2 separate regions of the Homo sapiens genome follow, and region 2 is linked to region 1. Evidence: promoter capture Hi-C in 16 types of primary human blood cells and fetal thymus (Javierre and others, 2016). All regions are on one chromosome and are shown on one strand. Each heading gives the region's core, a stretch centred on a gene start or on the middle of the fragment in contact. The rest is flanking DNA. Distances are from core to core; before and after follow the strand shown.

Region 1 (3,530 bases), core at 467-2,966:
CCAACATGGTGAAACCCCATCTCTACTAATATACAAAAATTAGCCAGGCGTGGTGGCATGTGCCTGTAGTCCCAGCTAGTCAGGAGGCTGAGGCAGGAGAATCAATTGAACCCGGGAGGTGGAGGCTGCAGTGAGCCGAGATTGTGCCACTGTACTCCTGCGTGGGCAACAGAGCGAGACTCCATCTCAAAAAAAAAAAAAAAAATTCCAGAAATAATGCATACATTTTAAATAGCATGCCTTTCTGAGTTGTGATGAAATCTTATTCCATCCTATCCCATTCAGCCCGGGGCCATGAATCATCTCCTTGTTTAGCGTATCCCTGCTGTATAAGCTTCCTGCCTTTTAGTTGCTTGGTTATCAGATTGATGGAGGTGGTATCACAGTGCGTGTGTTCTAGGAATACTTATTTTACTTAATTATTGCTTCAAAGCACAAGAGTAACGACGCTGGCAATTTGGTTATGCCAAAGAGTAGCTGTAAAGTGCCTCTTTTAAGCAAAAAAAGGAAAGTTCTCCACTTAATAAGGAAGAAAAGAAATCCTATGTTGATGTTGTTAAGAACTATGGTAAGAACAAATCTATCTGTAAAATTGTGAATAAGCAAAAAGAAATTTATGCTAGTTTTACTGTCACACCTCAAACTGCCAAACTTATAGCCATAGTGCATTATAAAAGCTTAGTTAAGATAAAAAAGGAATTAAATTTGTGGTTAGAAAATGTGAACAGAAGCATGCTCAGATTGAAGGCAGTTGGATTCAGCCTCCTCACGGGGCCTTGGGATATACACCCTTGGATAAGGAGAGGACTGCTATAAAAGGTTTTAGTATTAAGTTGGTATTGCATTTGTATCACCAGACCACTTTCTCCCCATTTTCTCTTTTTACTTTGTTGCTAGTGTTAATGATAGGGTTGATTTACATTACCTTTTACATTACCTACCTTTTTTCATTCACTGTTATTCACATATATTGAAAGACAATTGTTCTGCTTTTTTCCTCTTATCCTCAGCTAGCCTCCCTAACCTCAGGTAGAGGTTTTTCATGTTCCAGTGTTTGTCCTTTTTTTCTCCCCCCTTGTTTTTATTCCCTTCCCACATGGCTTTTCAATTCAGACTGAAATGTACTTGAGGACCAAAGTTAATACAGTTTTATTCTGTTAGGGATTTTTGTTAAATAAGTAGAGTTTCAGCTGCCCTTGTCACACACAAAAAATAAGATAGATGATAGGTGTTAATCTCCTTGACTAAAATAACCATTTTACTATCTGTGTGTATCCTATAATGTCAACTTGTAAACCTCAAATATACACATTAACATTTTTTAAAAAAAGAAGTTTCACCAAAAAAGACACTTCTATTTAATGTATGTCTTATTTCTTTTACCTTAAGAAATGTTTCTCTTAACCTTTCTCCATTTTCAACCCCATTTGTTTGCTCTTCTCTGCAACAAAAATCCTCTAAAGAGTTTTCTATGCTCCATGTTCCAATTCCTCTTTTTCTACCTCTGCATCTTCATTGGTATATTTAAAAGATATCTTGAACTCAGATGTCCCAGACCGAACTCCTTTCCTCCCAAACCTTTCCCATTCTTTCTCATCTGAATTGATGGCAACTTTATACAGCCAGTTGCTCAGTTAAATCTTTGGAGTCATCCTTGACTCCTTCCTTTCTCTTGTATTCCAACAAATCTGTTGGCTTTTTCTATGAAATATATCTAGAATTCAACAGTTTTCTACTATTTCTGCTATTAGTATACTGATCATCTCTTGCTCAGATTTTTGTTATTACCCACTATCATTTCTTGCCTGGATTATAGTAATTGTGTTCTGTTCTCTCTGCTTTTTTCAGTCCTTGCCTCCCTACAGTCTATTCTCATATGTCAGCCAGAGTGATACTTTTAAAATATAAATAAAAAATTGTGTATTTACATGTAAGATTCTAAATGCAATATGTTATGCTAGATTGGATCCTGAAACAGAAAGAGGTTATTAATGGAAAAACTGGTGAAATCCAAATAAAGTCTATGGTTTAGTTGATAGAAATGTATCAGTGTTGGTTTCCTGGTTTTGATAAATGCACCGTGGTAGTATAAGATGTTAATATTAGAAGAAATTGGGTGAGGGGTATATGAGAACTTTCTATTATCTTTGTAACCCTTCTGTAAATTCAGAATTATTTCAAAATAATATACAGAAGAATAAAACATTACTTTTTTGCTTAAAAACCTTTCGTGAATCATTTGATTCATAGTAGAAGCTAACAGCCTTACGTTGGCCTACAATAGTCTACATCAGTCTTGTCCAACTTACAGCTCACAGGCTGCCTGTGGCCTATGATGGCTTTGAATGCGGCCCACCACAAATTTGTAAACTTTCTTAAAACATTATGAGATTTTTTTTTTTTTGAGCCCTTTAGGTATCATTAGTGTTAGTGTATTTTATGTGTGGCCCAAGACAATTCTTCCTCCAGTGTGGCCTAAGGAAGTCAAAAGATTGGACACCTCTGCTCTACATGATCTGGTCTCCCATTACCTCTCTGACTACATGTCTTTGTATTCTCTCTCCCTTTGTTCCAGCCATACTTACCACCCTGTTTCTTAAGTACACTAGGCCTACTTCTACCACAGGGCCTTTGCACTGACTGCTGCTTCTTTCTAGAATGCTTTTGGATCCATACAGCTATTCCTTCATAGCTTTTACATGTTGTTCAAATGTCACCTTTGCAGTAAAGCATATCCCAACCTCCCTATTTAAATTGAAGCTTTGCAACTTCCATAGCCCCTACCCCTATCTCCTCCACCCTGTTTTATCTCCTCTTTTTACTTCAGCGCTTATCATTATTCTATATATGTATTACATATTTGTTACATGTATTTTTAATTGTGTTCCCCTATTAAAATGTAAAATCCATGAAGGCAGGCATTTTTATCTGTTTTGTTGTCTTATGCCACATTCTAAAGCATTTGTCTGAGGCATAGAAGTACTCAGTAGGTTTTGTTTGAATGAATGACTGACTTGATTGGGTGTTTGAATCTGTAATTTTTTTTTTTTTTTTTTTGAGATGGAGTCTTGCTCCGTTTCCCAGGCTGGAGTGCAGTGGCACAATCTCTACTCACTACAACCTCTGCCTCCTGGGTTCCAGCAATTCTCTCTTCTCAGCCTCCTGAGTAGCTGGGATTACAGGTGCATGCCACCATGCCCAGCAAATTTTTTGTATTTTTAGTACAGACGGGGTTTCACCATGTTGGCCAGACTGGTCTCGAACTCCTGACCTCGTGATCCACCCGCCTCAGCCTCCCAAAGTGCTGGGATTACAGGCATGAAGGTGCTGGGATTACAGGCATGAGCCACCGCATTTGACCATGAACCTGTAATTTTTGATTTGCAGTCTGAAACACTGAATTATTTATCACTTCCATGTATCATGCTATTTCTTGCCTCCAAGTTTTTACTCATGCAGACTCTTCTATTTGGAATGCCCTTCCTTATCTTTCTTCCTCTACCCCTAAGTTGTTTTCACCTGACCATTTC
Region 2 (3,530 bases), core at 1,031-3,530, 4.2 Mb after region 1:
TTGATTTCCAAAGATGGGAGCTGATCAAATTTGGTATTTGTTAAAAGGATGAAGATCTGTTCAAAGTAGCATACTGAGGTTGCCTAGGACTGGGCTAGGCAGTAGAATAGACCACAGGTTGTATTTGCAGTACAGTTTTGTAGGTACATACACCTAAAAGTCTAGAAAACATTTAATTGAGCATTTGATAGGTGTTAGACTGCATTAAATATTGACCTTTACAAGTGCTAAAGAATTGTCAAAAAGGAGGAGGTAATTCTGCAGTAAGAGTAGTGAGCCTCACCTGGACTCCCAGGCAACATACAGAGGGTGTGTGAACATTTAGAAATCAGTGATAACCAAGAGCCGGTGATAACCTGCCAGTTCAATGTCCTGCATTCAAGGGCTGACAGTGGTGACTGGGACAGGAATGTTGGAGGATTGGGATGCTAACACACTGGAGGTTTTCAAGCACAGGCTATATTAAGATTTGTTGGGATTGTTGCACTTGGTGTTCACACAGCAGACAGTAAGTAGAGTAGGTATTTTGATAGTCTTGTCTAACTGAGGGTCTAAGTTTAAAAGAAAACTGTTCTCAGGGAGGCCACCATAAGTAGTACTTCATTATTAAGTATTATGGAACTACTTCATTCTCATTTCTAGAACAGCACAGAGCTTGGCAACTCAAAACCCGCCTATTTTACCTACCCACCTAATGAATGACATTTATTATTTCTTTCAGAACCGTTTTTAGGTATTGCATACCTCCTTCTTGATTAGTATACTATACATTAATATAGTGGTTCTCAAACTTAAGTGTGCAAACAATCACTTGGAGGGTTTGTTAAAATGGATCGCTGCATATTTTCTGATTCAGAAGGTCTGAGGTGGCATTTCTGAATTCCTAGGATGTTGCGGCCTGAATTCACTTTGAGAACTCTAGCTCCTGTGACTGGTCCATCTTCCTTCTCCCAGGTAGCACACTGCTAAGAGATATGCGTAATGGAGGCCCCAGGACTACTCCTAATCAAGTTGGATTGTTGTCATTGACTAGGTAAATAGGCCTGTGCAAACTTACAAAGGCAATGCATTGCCTGTATCTTGTCACGTCTTTTAGTGGTCTTTTCTCTTTTTCCTGGGTTTCTATCACAGCCACTTGCCATCCTGAGTGTTAGTTTGATCATCCTTAGCACAGAAAATATTGATCTCAAAGATCAATATCCAATGGTATTTAATGTGGGATCACTCCTGGGAGAATTTAACAATATTGTTAATTTCAAACCATGGGAAGCTCCCTCTACATGAATGCATAGTTTGTATACATTTTAGTGTAAAAGACAAAATAACACCCTTCTCCTTAATTGTATTAAAAATGAGTTTTCAGTTTATTGCTACTTTTGAAACGATATATAATTATAACTAGCATTCTGGGACATTCTTGACATTTGACTTGTTGAAGGTGCTTGCATTGTGGATCACGTCCTGCAGTCTTTTGCACACAAACCAGGACAAAAGTGCATTGATTAGTGTTTTCTGTGGCACCTCCTCCTCTTCATCAGTATCCAACAGACTTATAATGGCATAGGTAAGTATATGAGACAGTTGATAAAGAAAAACGTATGCAAATACTGGTAGAAATCTTACTTCATAACCACTATTTCTACTCAAATTCTTCACCCTTCTCATATGGTGCCCTTTATTTCGTTTTGGAGTTTCAGAATCTATTTTAACTGTGTGTGTGTGAGATAGTCATAGTGATTTATAGCATGCAACGAAAAAGAAAACATTAATAGTACTGCCCCGATCTTCAAAGCTACCTGACCCCTGCCCGGTTTCTGCGCTGCTGGTTAAGGCTGTTTTTTCCACTGGTCAGGAAGTACGGAACTAGTTTCTGGGCATTTTCCTTTCCCTTTCCCCCTCCTTCCTCTCCACCGCCTCCTGGTCCCCCTCTGGTCTCTCCGGCTTTAACAGCGCCAAGCACCCGCGTGCTCAGGTACCCTTCCCTCTTCTCCCGCCCATCAAACAAAGCCCCGGGAGACAGGCGCGCGCCGCCGGCCACGCCAACAGGAGATGCGGCCGCGCCGCCACACGCTTGGAACCGGAGGAGGACAGCAAGCGCGACCACGCACCGCGCGTCCCCGCCGCTTCCTTCCCTCTGGACTCTTCCTTTTCCTCCCGGCCCGGCCCCCCGCCCCCGCTCCGGGAACGCGCCTGCGCACAAGCTGCCCTCTCCCTTCTCCGCCCTTCCTTCCCTCCGTCCCTCCTCCCCTGCCCCGCCTTCCTTTCTCTCTCTCCCGTTTCACTCACTGAGAGCTCCAGGTAGTGAGCAGTTCAGTCGATTTCCTCGTTACCCCGCCCCCCTTTCTCTTGCCCCCCCACCCCTCTCATCTGCCTGGTGGAGGATGAAGCGGCTGCAGTGGCCCCAGCCTCAGCAGCGGCACCGGCGGTGGCTGCGGTGTGGGTGGCCGGAACTGGGGTGGTGAAGAAGCGGTGGTGGCGGCTGAAGGAGCGGTAGCAGCCTCAGCCTCTTTCCCTGTGCTTCCTTTCCTCTTTAGTGCAGCGAGGAAGTTTTCGCTTCTGTACATGTGTTTGTGTGCGTGAGTGTGGGTGTGTGCGGTGAGGTTTGGGTGGCGTTTGTGCAGGCGTTGGGTTTTTTGCCCACTTGGCTTCCCGTAACCCAGGCAGCTGGGGAGCCTGGGCTGTGGCCCTAGGAGGGGGCGCGGCGGCGGGCTCTCTCCTTTTGTTGTTGTTTCCTCAGCCTGGGGAGCTGAAGGGGAGACGCGTCTGGGTGGGGCTGCTCGGAGCCCGGGCCTGGTGGCCCCTGGGGCTCCCGGGCGGGCAGGGTAGGGCAGAGTAGAGCGGGCTTCAACATGATGGCGGCCGAGGCCGGCAGTGAGGAGGGCGGCCCGGTAACAGCCGGAGCTGGAGGAGGCGGCGCGGCAGCGGGCTCCAGTGCCTATCCCGCAGTGTGTCGGGTGAAGATACCCGCGGCCCTGCCTGTGGCAGCCGCCCCCTATCCTGGGCTGGTGGAGACCGGAGTGGCTGGAACTCTGGGTGGCGGAGCCGCTTTGGGGTCAGAGTTCCTAGGAGCCGGGTCTGTGGCAGGGGCACTGGGGGGAGCTGGACTGACAGGGGGAGGTACTGCTGCTGGCGTAGCTGGTGCTGCTGCTGGCGTGGCCGGTGCTGCTGTTGCTGGACCTAGTGGAGACATGGCTCTCACCAAACTGCCCACTTCGTTGCTTGCTGAGACTCTCGGGCCAGGCGGCGGTTTTCCCCCTCTGCCCCCTCCCCCTTACCTGCCCCCTTTGGGGGCGGGCCTCGGGACAGTGGACGAAGGTGACTCTCTGGATGGACCAGAATACGAGGAGGAAGAGGTGGCCATACCGTTGACCGCTCCTCCAACTAACCAGTAAGTTAAGACTGCTGTTCAGGAATTTGGGAAGCTGGCTCCAGAAAAGAAGTGGAAATGAAGGGGTAAATCATACTTTGTCCTTTTCATCTGTGGTTTGTTAGGAAAAGTTTTTGAAGTTTCAGGTTTCTTGGGTAGGAAT

Evidence for each region. The method cuts DNA at HindIII sites, captures the fragments that hold promoters and counts their contacts. A CHiCAGO score of 5 or more calls a contact.
Region 2: the fragment with the promoter of RASA1 here is called in contact with a fragment that was not itself captured in region 1 in 1 of 17 cell types (M2 macrophages); the score reaches 6.2 in M2 macrophages.

What each region holds. Positions count from the first base shown.
Region 1 is chr5:83,080,338-83,083,867 of GRCh38, forward strand. The region is part of intron 1 of XRCC4 (X-ray repair cross complementing 4); the gene reads left to right. Among named protein-coding and RNA genes, the nearest start is that of XRCC4, 4.6 kb to the left of the region's middle. The HindIII fragment of the contact is 2,083 bases long and covers 676-2,758 here.
Region 2 is chr5:87,265,603-87,269,132 of GRCh38, forward strand. RASA1 (RAS p21 protein activator 1) reads left to right here and starts at 2,281. Exons shown (of 25, transcript NM_002890.3): 1 at 2,281-3,388. The coding sequence starts at 2,850. RefSeq lists enhancers at 2,010-2,304, 2,358-3,245, 3,003-3,052 and silencers at 2,053-2,302, 2,643-2,822. The HindIII fragment of the contact is 5,594 bases long and covers 1-3,530 here.